4 separate regions of the Homo sapiens genome follow, and regions 2, 3 and 4 are each linked to region 1. Evidence: promoter capture Hi-C in 16 types of primary human blood cells and fetal thymus (Javierre and others, 2016). All regions are on one chromosome and are shown on one strand. The core of a region is centred on a gene start or on the middle of the fragment in contact, and the rest is flanking DNA. Distances in the headings are between cores, read along the strand shown. Region 1 holds the start of SLC29A3 (solute carrier family 29 member 3). Region 2 overlaps CDH23 (cadherin related 23). Region 3 overlaps CDH23 (cadherin related 23). Region 4 overlaps CDH23 (cadherin related 23).

What was found. Contacts are between HindIII fragments. The CHiCAGO score rates a contact against its expected background, and 5 or more counts as called.
Region 2: a contact is called between a fragment that was not itself captured here and the fragment with the promoter of SLC29A3 in region 1, in 1 of 17 cell types (endothelial precursors). The highest score is 5.5, in endothelial precursors.
Region 3: a fragment that was not itself captured here is called in contact with the fragment with the promoter of SLC29A3 in region 1 in 2 of 17 cell types (megakaryocytes and naive B cells); the score reaches 6.5 in megakaryocytes.
Region 4: a contact is called between a fragment that was not itself captured here and the fragment with the promoter of SLC29A3 in region 1, in 8 of 17 cell types (total B cells, naive B cells, endothelial precursors and 5 more). The highest score is 9.3, in total B cells.

What each region holds. Positions count from the first base shown.
Region 1 is chr10:71,317,833-71,320,587 of GRCh38, forward strand. It overlaps SLC29A3 (solute carrier family 29 member 3), which reads left to right and starts at 1,427. Exons shown (of 6, transcript NM_018344.6): 1 at 1,427-1,478. The coding sequence starts at 1,478. LOC124902445 (a long non-coding RNA gene) reads right to left here and starts at 1,831. Exons shown (of 2, transcript XR_007062183.1): 1 at 1,730-1,831; 2 at 137-1,072. RefSeq lists a silencer at 1,224-1,673. The HindIII fragment of the contact is 7,819 bases long and covers 1-2,755 here.
Region 2 is chr10:71,650,982-71,653,681 of GRCh38, forward strand. The region is part of intron 14 of CDH23 (cadherin related 23); the gene reads left to right. Among named protein-coding and RNA genes, the nearest start is that of C10orf105, 67 kb to the right of the region's middle. The HindIII fragment of the contact is 2,133 bases long and covers 192-2,324 here.
Region 3 is chr10:71,583,873-71,586,627 of GRCh38, forward strand. The region is part of intron 9 of CDH23 (cadherin related 23); the gene reads left to right. Among named protein-coding and RNA genes, the nearest start is that of CDH23-AS1, 73 kb to the left of the region's middle. The HindIII fragment of the contact is 8,272 bases long and covers 1-2,755 here.
Region 4 is chr10:71,678,263-71,680,962 of GRCh38, forward strand. CDH23 (cadherin related 23) reads left to right here. Exons shown (of 70, transcript NM_022124.6): 17 at 1,125-1,230. Among named protein-coding and RNA genes, the nearest start is that of C10orf105, 40 kb to the right of the region's middle. The HindIII fragment of the contact is 1,597 bases long and covers 458-2,054 here.

The DNA.
Region 1 (2,755 bases), core at 177-2,676:
GGAGCTAAGCCCCTTCCTCTCCTGGGCCGGGGGGCTTTCTGACAATTTAGGGTGCTAGTCTCCAAACTCGCCTGCTGGTGGAGCTTGTTAAATAGATCCATTCTGGATCCCCATTCTGCACCCCCTGAGTGATGGGTTGTATTAATCCAGGTATTTATTGAACACAAATTATGTGCCCACGATGAGGGAAGAGCAAACAAAGCAGATACAGCACCACCCTCAGGGATTGGGGAGTGGCAGCAACCCTCCTGGGGAGAGGTCCCCAGAATCTGGATGTGTACTCGAGACTTTTATGATCAGGCCAGTGTTTGGGGAATGGTGGTTATAAAATGAGAGGCTGGGGCAGGGAGTGGGGATGTTCTGAGAACCTGTCCACACACTGACAGCCTCAATGGGTTCTGTGGCACCCCTGAGCCCTGGGATGGCAACTGCAAGAATTTACTATCCATGGTCACAGATCTTCAGGCCCTGTGAAGCATCCAGATCCCCGCTCTGAATAGGCCAACTGGGCCAGGACCGGGAGTCAGGAAGGTTTCCGCCTTTTTTTTTTTTTTTTTTTTTTTGAGATGGAGTCTTGCTCTGTCGCCCAGGCTCCAGGCTGGAGTGCAGTGGCACCATCTCGGTTCACTGAAATCTCCGCCTCCCGGGTTCAAGCGATTCTCCTGCCTCAGCCTCCCACATAGCTGGGATCACTGGCACGCACCACCATGCCCGGCTACTTTTGTATTTTCAGTAGAGACGAGGTTTCGCCATGTTGGCCAGGCTGGTCTCAAACTCCCGACCTCAGGTGATCCGCCTGCTTCGGCCTCCCAAAGTGCTGGGATTACAGGCGTGAGCCACCGCGCCCGGCCCCTGCTTTCTTAAAGAACACGCGGCAGCTGTGTGTTACACGCTATGGCTGAGGTCAAGTGTGAGGGCTGGAATTGCTGACTGCCATGTTCTGGGTCTACTGAAAATAGCTGCCTGGCCTGGGAGGCCCAGTTCAGTCCGGGTGTGGGTCCCGCTTCACCTCCAGAGCAGCGGCAGCCGGTAAGGGTAGAAGCGGCCTTTGGAGAGGGGTCTCTGCAGCGGCCTGGGGACAAGATGAGGGCTCCTTTGAGTCCTGGGGTGCAGGTTATAGTAGCTAAAGGGGAGGTCTGAGACAGTGGGGTCTGGCTCCAAGGTAAAGAAGGAGCAGCAACCAAAAGGCCTGATGCGCAGCGCACCCATCGCAAGCATGGGCAGTGCGTTTAAGACTGGGTGACTCACTTTTTCTCCTATAAAATGGGCGCACGCAGGCCCCAGCTCAGCGCCAGAAGGGGGAGCCCCGGCGCGCCGGCAGAAGACAAAGGAAAAAAGCGTGTTTGCAAACGGGGAAGCGGCGGCGTGCTGCCGCGAGGGGCGGGGCGGGGCCGGGGGAGGAGCCCGCCTGCCGCCTGCCAAGCCCAGTGGTCCTGGCCGTGCGCCGGAGGCAGCGGCGGCGTGGCGCAGCGGCGACAGTAAGTGCGGGCCGGCTCGGGCTCTTCCGGCTACGGTCCCGGCCGCCCCCAGACTCGCGCTCAGCGACCTCCCTCCCGGGCCCTGGGGGCGGCTGCGGGCTGCCAGGGGAGCCGCAGGACCCTACCCCATCCGTGGTCCCTTCCCCACCGTCCCTCCTCTCTCTCCTTGCTCTCTGCCACCCCTCTTTCTGGGTCTCTATCTTCTCTTCCCCAAATCCTCTCCCCTCCTCCTCCCTGAGACTGGACCTCACCGCCTGTATGGTGGGGGCCTGGTATGGACCCGTCGGCCCGAAGTATCCAGACGGTGGCTGATTCTCTCGGTCCCAGCTGCGGGGCCTGAGGCTGGGGCTGTTTACACCGCAAAGCCGGTTCTGCCGCGGCCAGTAGGCGGTGCCCTGCGCTTCCCAGTGCCTTCCCACAGGTTAGCCCTACCAGCTCCCCACCCCGGTTCACAGCCCAGGAGATCGAGGCACAGAGGGGCGAGCCACCTAGCCAGAGTCAGGAACCTCCTTGGAACCAGCACCCAGGCTTCCCAGCCCAGATGAGGTTTTGCCGCGGCCCCAGCAGTGCCTGCCTCCTTGTGTGGGGCTGTCTGTCTGTGCATGGCCGGGCTCCCGCAGGTGACCCAGGAGCACGTTCCAGGCCACAGCCAGCTTGTTTTGGGGAAGGTTGGGCACTTCCTTGCCTGCCTTTCTCTTTATTTTTTAATCCAGAAGCCAGCAGCTAGCTTTTATAAAGACTAATAAGACTTTGCTCACTCCAGTGCCCTGGCCTGTGACCCTGGTTAGAGAAAATTCCTGGCTCCTTCTTCAGAAGCTCAGTCAAGCCTTGACAAATAGACGCTAGGAACTGAGAAGGGGGCCCTAGCCAGGTGTGGTCCTGAGTGACAGGGCTGGTGGACCTTCTAGCCGCCCCCACAGGTAGCTGGAGCCTCTGGAAAGAACCACTTGCCGGTTCTCTCTTGTTCTATGTGGGTGGGTCATGATTATTTTTTACATTTTAAACACTAATTTTTAAAATGTAACAAGTGAGCTTGTTACATTTGTACCATTTTGTGCCAGACAAAATAGCATAGACTGGGTGGCTTAAACAAAATTTGTTTCTCATGGATCTGGAGGCTGGGAAGGGCAAGATCAAGGTGCTGGTTGATTTGGTTTCTGATGAGGGCTCTCTTCCTGGCTTGCAGACAGCCTCCTTCTTGCTGTGCCTTCACATGGCTTTTCCTCTATGAGTGGGTGCATGTGGAAAAAGCGATTTTCCACACAGTGAGCTTCCAG
Region 2 (2,700 bases), core at 8-2,507, 330 kb after region 1:
TGTGTGCTAGGCACATGGCCCTGAGGACACATGGTGATGTGAGTCTTGTACTTATAAAGTTTATAGTCTTCCAGGAAAACTGGACTAACTACGAAATGAATCTTCACACTGAGTATTACTTGCTGTGATGGAGAGATCAGGGAGTACGCGAACCTCTAATAGGGTACCTGACCTTGCCTGGGGTCCAGGAAAGCTTCCCTGAGGAAGTGGCATTTGAGTAAGCATTAACTGGTGAAGGCAGACAGGGAATAACATTGGAGAAAAGAGGCTGGGAGCAGTGGCTCATGCCTGGAATCCCAACACTTTGGGAGGCCAAGGCAACTGGATCACTTGCGCCTAGGAGTTCAAGATCAGCCTGGGCAACATGGCAAAACCCTGTCTCTGCAAAAAAAAAAAAAAAAAAATGCCAGCTGTGGTGGCATACACCTTTAGTTCCAGCTACTGTAGAGGCTGAGGTGAGAATGTCACTTGAGCCCAGGAAGTTGAGACTTCAGTGAGCCGTGATCCACTGCACTCCAGTGAGCCGTGAGCCACTGCACTCCAGCCTGTGCAACAGAGTGAGACCCTATCTCAAAAAAAAAAAAAACCACTGGAGGAGAGAACAGCATGTGCAAAGGCCCCGTGGCTGGAGTACAGTGAGGACGTGTGTGATGTGTGGGGAAGTGGGGTCCTGCTCCTTTGAAGCACAAGAGGCTTGGCTGTTTCTCTTCTTCCCAAATTGATACTCCCCACAATATGCCCTTTGGGATGCTGTTCTGATAGTGGGGAAGGCCTATATCAAACCATCCATACCCCCTTGCCTGTTCCATCCTTGTGACGGTGGCAGGCGTTTGGGAAACAGTTGGCAGAGGTGGTACCTAGGATGTGTGAGGAGCCAGCTTGGCCTCTTGCAGCATGGGGCACGTGTCCCTCTATTTATTAGCTCCATGTCCTCTGGGCAGTGGGAGAGGCGAAGTGCTGAGGAAGGGTGGCAGCCCCCCTGGCGCAGGGCTTACTGAGCTCCAAGGCCTTCTATCCCTGCTGCAGGGGGTGGGGCATGGCAGAAATGGGCAGAAGATGGACTTCAGACAAGACAGGCTTCTTCCCCAGTCGGAGGAAGCCAAGAAAGGAGAGGCCCTGAAAAGTCCTGACTGGGCAGGTGTGGGGCCCCAGGACCAGCTTGTGGTTTGCTGAGCCGTGGGTAGAGCTCCACCTCTCAGCTCCAGACAGACAGGGCTGGCTGGAGGTGGCCTAAAAGCCTGCTCCTCTCTCATCTCCCTGCCCCCTCTTCCCAGCCTGTCCTTGGGAGGCTGGCAGCATCTTGGGCAGGGCCACAAGACATCCAGGGAGTCCCTGCAATCCTGTCTTACTATGAGCTGGTCACTCCTTCTCTGGGACTTGGCTTTTTTCCTATGAAATGGGAAAGTAGTGCCTGCGCAGCCTGCAGTGCTGGGTTGTTGGGAGACCCATTGCAGTGATGTGGTGTAAACAGGTAAGATTTACAGATGGCAGGAGTGGGTATTTTCATCACTGGCCTTCAGGGTCTCACCTGGCTGCCCACCAGCCCTTCGGCCTGTGGACAAGCCCAGCTCTGCCGCAGTGGACCCTGGACAAGACACCGGGCCTCAGTTTCCTCTTCTGTGAGCTGGGGGAGATAACCTGCTAGGAGCCTACCTTGGAGGATTGTTGTGAGAATCAAATGAAATGATTCATGAAGACACAGCACAGAGGCTGGCTAGGAACACACGCTGGAAATGTCAGCAAGTCATGCCTGGCCTCCTGGCTGAGCCTCCAGGGAGCACGGGCCCTGGGCAAGGACACCACCCTCAGAGCTGTGGCCCTGCCTCAGGCAGCCATGTGACCTTGGCCAGTCACTGAACCTCTGGGTCCCAGTGAGATGACTGGGCCAGGGGCTGGTTCAGGGCCTTCTGGGTTGGTGAGGCTTTAATTCCAATTTGCACTGTCCAAGGAGAAAGGGGAGCCATTCTTGCTGTTTAGTTTCATGCCCAGCAACATGAACGTGCCACCCACCCTGCAAGGGTCCCCACCCACCCACTGGCCTCTAGAGCCCGTCTCCTGCCCTACCCCTCCTCTCTCAGCTCCCATCTGGAAGTCTCAGGAAGATTCCCCAGGACTTCACTTCCCCCTCCTAGAGCTAACTGGCTTTTCCTCCTGGTCCAGCCCAGCCTCCCTCTCCTGCCACATCAGCAGACAGCCCTGCTGCATCAATGTCAGCCCCATTGCTGTTTGTCCCCATCTCTCCTTCCCCTCCCACCCACAGCATTGACCCCACAAGGAAAAGGTGGGTATGATGTCATTGCCCTGGGCTGGCCGTGTTGAAGGCAAGCTTCAATCCTGGAGGACTTCAAATGCAGCAGGCCTGTTCCACCAGCTGTAAGGCCACAGGGCCTCTCCCTCTGCTCTGTAACTGTCAGGACACCCCCAGCCTTCAGGCTCAGAGATCACCCCTGTCCCTCCATGCTGCTGAATCCAAGAACTCTAACATGGGTTCTACTCAAGGTGCTGGAAACCTAATAGCCCAGCCAGATGATCCAGGAAAGCCAGTTCACTGCCTGTCTTAGTCTTGGTGCTCCCTGGGGCAAACCCCAGTTCCTCCCTGGTCCCTCTGCCCCCAGCAGAAGGACATGTTGCTCTGCAACATCTGTGGAAGCCTCTCAGCTGTATCTATCTACTACTGCAGGAGGGAACCTTGCTATAGGA
Region 3 (2,755 bases), core at 208-2,707, 270 kb after region 1:
AGCAGAGATTTGAACCCAAGTCCCTCGGGTTCCAGAACCTCCCAGTTTCCATGACAACCCACTAGTTCTCAAAGTGTGCTCCCCAGAGCAGCAGCATCAGCATCATCTGGGAATTATTAGAAATGCAAGGTTTTGCATCCCCACTAAACCTAAAGAATCAGAAACTCTGTGGGTGCGCCCGGGCAACACTGATGCTGCTGGTCTGGGGACCACACTTTGAGAAGCTCTGGTCTAAAGGAGCGTGTGTTCTCAATGGCGGCAAAATTTTGTACTGGGGAAGATCTTACTCTTTTAATGTTTAAAGCAGATTTACATTATATCCATGGTGTTGACATTTCATGTCGGGGGAGGAAAGCAATTACGTAAAAATGTCTAAAGTGGCTCCTGGGGCAAGGGGTTGAGTGGGGTGGGTGATGATGAAGAGAAGGTTGAGAAACCCTCTAGAATCAAGGGTAGGTGAGAAATATCAGGCCGAAACCCCTCACTTTCAACTTTCAAGGCAGTGGCCTCACTTCCAGGTCACACTGGGGCACTATGGTAGTGAAGGACAGAGCCTTCCCTTGCTTGTCTCTGAATTTTATTTTAATGCTACCCAAGTGAGGAGGTACATTGAGTGCTTTAAAATATACTGAAATACATGAAAATACACTGATTGCTTTGAAGGGAAGTCTGTGTGTGTGTGTGTGTGTGTGTGTGTGTGTGTACGCAGGGAGAATAATCAGATACAGTCAGACTTGCACAACCTCACACCCCCCACATATGCCAATAACTGAATCGGGCCTCTGGCCATGGCCTAGTGGGGGACAGCTATCATAGGAGACCATCGTGCGAAACACTTCAAAGCCCTTGTGATTAAGCTGCTTGGCATTTTCTTCCCCTGAGAAGTAAAAACTCAGGAAAAGCAGAATTGCTTTGGAACTCTGAATCGCACACCACAGCTCCTGGCTTAGGGTAGCACAATGGCTGCCTGGAAGCCCCAAACATCTCAGGGCATCTTGGGGAATGGCTCACCTGGCTGGAGCCAGAGGTCACCAGGAAGGAGTCCAGGGCAGATCAGAGAGGGGTGGCAGGACATTTGCTAGAAGACAGAGAAAGCAAAAGAAGTAGGTTATTGAGTGCAGCTGGGGTCGGGGAAGTGAACGCGGGGTCACCAGGAGATTCATCAGTTCTGGGTGGATTGGAGCAGGAAGCACTGGAATGAGGGCGATCTGCTAACAGGCTGTGGCTCTAATCTGTCCTTGCCGCGGGGAGGTCTGGGGGTCATTGTGGTGACGTACAGGAACCGAGTCAGCAGGCTCTGGTGATGTACTGAAAATAGATGATGTGGGAAAAGGAGGAGACAAAGAAACTACTAACGTCTGAGTCTAGGTTTCTCGGATCATGGTGGTGGCCTAGGCAGAAAGGGGCATATTCATAGGAAAAGCCTGTTAATATCTGTGAATGCCACCCTAGACCCACATGTACCAAAACACCCCATTCTTCATCCATGGCAGACATCACTAATTGATCCCAGCACAAGGATGGGCCTCCAAGCCTTTCTTACCTGCCCTCTGGCAGCCACTAGCAGTTGAGAAGCATTCTCTCTCAAGCTGGAACAAACCTGCTGTCCAAAGTGCAGGTTTAGCCCATTTGTATCCTGTAGCTCTCTTCTTTCAAGAGTATCTAGGGACAGAGCCTCTAGAGGGTTTTTAATTTAATTATACAAACACGCTGGCCTGTTATTTGCAGTTCTCTCCCACCATCATGCCGAGACAGCAATAATGCATCACACCAACACTCACTTTCTCCTGATGAGCCACAGAAAAGTCTGCACTTCTTCCTTCCCCCTGATCTTTCGCCCTCTTCTCTGCAGGGTGTGCTTCCTGCCAGCCGGCCTCTCCTGATGCTCTCATGAGCTCGCCTTTGTGATAAACCAGTCTTTATAGCCATGCTCATGATTCCCTGTTCTTCCTCTCTCCTTTAATGAGGTCCTGTATGCTCTTTGTCAGCAACAGTGGCTTGCCCCTTGCTTCCTTCCCATAAATAACACTGGTGGGTGGACTTTTAAGAGGTTTCACTGAAGCACAGTCTAGGACTCTCCCTTTCTGCGTCTCGTCTTCCCCATACCCTCCCCATGGGCAGGAGTCTGTCTCTGTCCCTTGCTCGGGACATAGAGTGCTGTGGAAACACCCTCAAGGCCTCTCCCTTCTGCTAGACCTGAGTCCACTTCCCCAGCTGGGCAAAGCATGGACTGCACGGGCTCTTTTTATTGGTCCACTCAGCTCAGGGAACCACATCTCTGAGCCAGAGCCATGGCTGAGGCAGCTCTGTGGGGTTGGGGGGTTTCTAGCTCATGGCTGGAGGTTGTTTTGGTGGGCGATTCTGGTTACCACATGTCAACAGGAACTTGTCTTTTTTTCTTTTTTGTTTCTTTTCTGCTTTTTCCTCAATCTGTAAGATAACTGCTTTTTATTGACTTTCAAGAGCTTTGAGATCTTTGGAGGAATAAGAAATTAGCCACCATTCAGTTTGCATTCTCTTTCTATTTTAACTTGGTCCACCTCTGGTACACAGAATTGATTTAAACGTAATTCTCGGCTCACGATTAACATTGGTCCATGTGTAGCTCTCTTTTGTTTCATTCTTAGCCTTAATAATATTGTGGATGCCTGTGAAACTCACCAGCTCACCTAGAGCAAGACCATCACCCATGCCTTACCTCGCCTTACCCACACCTTATTCATACCTTACCCACACCTTACCCTCACCTTACCCA
Region 4 (2,700 bases), core at 6-2,505, 360 kb after region 1:
CTGGAAGGAGCCACAGAGACCATGGAGTGCAACCCCATTTTACAGAAGGGGAACCCAGAGGGGAGGAGGCTTGCCCACGAAGACATAGTCGGGTAGCAGAGCCAGGTCTAGTCCCGGAATGCTATTCTCCAAGTGCTTCCTGCAGCAAGTCCCCCACTAGGCTTCAGTGACCTTTAACCAGAGACTTTTAAATGTCCCCCCTTCCCCATGCTGCCTACCCCAAGGGATGGGACCCAGAGCCTCCATTTGGAACTTGTTTCTGAAGCAGGTAGGGATGAAGGCAAGGCTGGAAGGGTGAGCACAGGGGATACCAAGAAGAACAGAACATGTGCCCGCCCAGCCTGGCCACGGCCCCCCGTACAACCCTGTCCTGCCCTGCCCTCCCTGCTCAGCTCCAGGTGTACCCGGAGTGGTGGGGACCACTGGAGGCTCTAGAGTGAGGGACAACCTGGAAAGAAGCTTATTAATTCAGCTCCCAGAGAAGACAGTCAAGGGGTAGAGGGATCCCTGGCCCCACTCCAGGTGCCTTCTTTCCTCCTTGCTTTCATGCAACATGCATGGATTAGACACCCACTGTGGCCAAATACTGTGTTGGCCTGTAGGTATGCAGCAGCAATCAAGAAACAAGGTTCCTGCTCACATGAAGCTGACGGTCTAAGTGAGGGAGGCAGAAATTAGATAAGAAATTACCACTGGGTGTAAGGGGACCAATGGGGTATGCAACCCTAGGGCCCTAACCGGCTCCGGGAGTCAGGGAGGGCATCTGCAGGTGGGGGTGTTCCAGCTGGGGTTGGGGGTGGGAGGTAATTGTGTCTCAGCCTCTGGGAAGGCCCGGCCTCTGCATTATTCCTGCGCCTCCCACCTGCCCTCTAGATTCCCCAGGCTGCCTCCACACCCAGCACATGGAGGGGAGCAGGGCGTCTGCTGGGAGCCAGAGTGCGGCCTCCAGTTGAAGCACAAGGGGTGCCTCCTGGCGTCCTGGGCCAGGACAAGACCCAGGGCTGGATCACCCAAAAAAGGAGCTGTGAACAGGGCCAGTCTTCCCCACCCTCCCAGCTGCCCACCCTCTTCTGGCCCCCAGTCTCCTGCAGGCTCACGGCCCTTGTCTGCCCTCTTCCTTTCAGGCAACAGATGAAGACTCCCCTCCCAACAACCAGATCACCTACAGCATTGTCAGTGCATCTGCCTTTGGCAGCTACTTCGACATCAGCCTGTACGAGGGCTATGGAGGTAGGTGTGGGGCAGAACTCGGGGCCCAGCCAGGAGGAGGGCTGGGGGGCTCTCTGCACTCACACCTCCCTTGTGGGGATGAGGCGGGCACTCCTTGTCTCCCTGACACTCTGGGCTACTCAGGAAGCTGCCCGGAGCACCTGGGGTGGAGCAGGATGTGGCCTGAGTCGCCCTTCCGTAGGGTCAACATCTGTGTCCCTCATCAGCAGGATCTCTCTCTGGTTCTTAGGCCATGGCCAGCCCTGCAATCGAGCCAGAAGTGTGATGTTAACAGAATCTCTGGGGTTCTCTGTTTCTTACCAAGGCTGCAGGCAGGTCCGTGGGATGGAAGCTCTTTAGCCAAGACTCCCTACTTTTTGGGCGGCCGTGTGGGACCAGGCACTCTGCACCATGCCCTGCTGCCTGCTGTGGGTCCCCATCCCTAGAGCCCTGGTAGGAAATAGCAGCAACCTCAAGCTCCAAGATCCCAAGAGAGACTATTTTGTTTTTCAGATAAAGCAGCTAAGGCCCAGAGACAGGGAGCAACTTGCCTGAGCTCACCCTGCAAAGCTGCTGAGCTTGGCACCAAGTCCCCGTGTGGTCTGGCCCTTGGTTGCCTTGCGAGCCTCAGCTCTCAGCAGCCCTTGCCCCACCAGAGTCCAGCCTCTTTGAACACTTTGACACTGTCTCCCCTTACTGGTGTTCACCCCCATGTCTTTGCAGAGTTTGTTCCTTCTGCCAGGAAAGCCCTTCCTCCTTGCCCCTTGGTCCTGCCTCCCTTTGGCTGTCCAGTGTGTAGCCCCTGGCTAGCTTTAAGGGCTCATTTAACACCTCCTCCTTTGGGAAGCTTCTCTGATTCCTGGAGCCTGGGTTAGGTGCCCCCAGGGCAGAAGGAATCGATGTGCGTTGAGTGACTCTGGGTCCAGTGGTCATTCCTCCCACTACCCCACAGTTAGTTCAGTTCAGAGAAATGCCACTGTAGAAATTGCAGTTCTGACCAGCGCGGTGGCTCACGTCTGTAATCCCAGCACTTTGGGAGGCCGAGACCGGCGGATCAATTGAGGTCAGGAGTTTGAGACCAGCCTGGCCAACATGGTGAAACCCTGTCTCTACTAAAAATACAAAAATTGGCCAGGCGTGGTGGTGTGCACCTGTAATCCCAGATACTCGGAAGGCTGAGGCAGGAGAATCACTTGAACCTGGGAGGCGGAGGTTGCAGGGAGCCCAGGTTGCACCACTGCACTCCAGCCTGGTGACAGAGTGACACTCCGTCTCAAAAAAAAAAAAAAAAAGAAAAAGAAATTGCATTCTCTATGAAATCTACATCCCTCTGTCTTTCTTTTTTTTTTTTCTTTTTCTTTTTTTTTTTTTTTTTGAGACAGAGTTTTACTCTGTCACCCAGGCTGGAGTGCAGTGGCTCGATCTCGGCTCATTGCAACCTCCGCCTTGTGGGTTCATACAATTCTCCAGCCTCAGCCTCCCGAGTAGCTG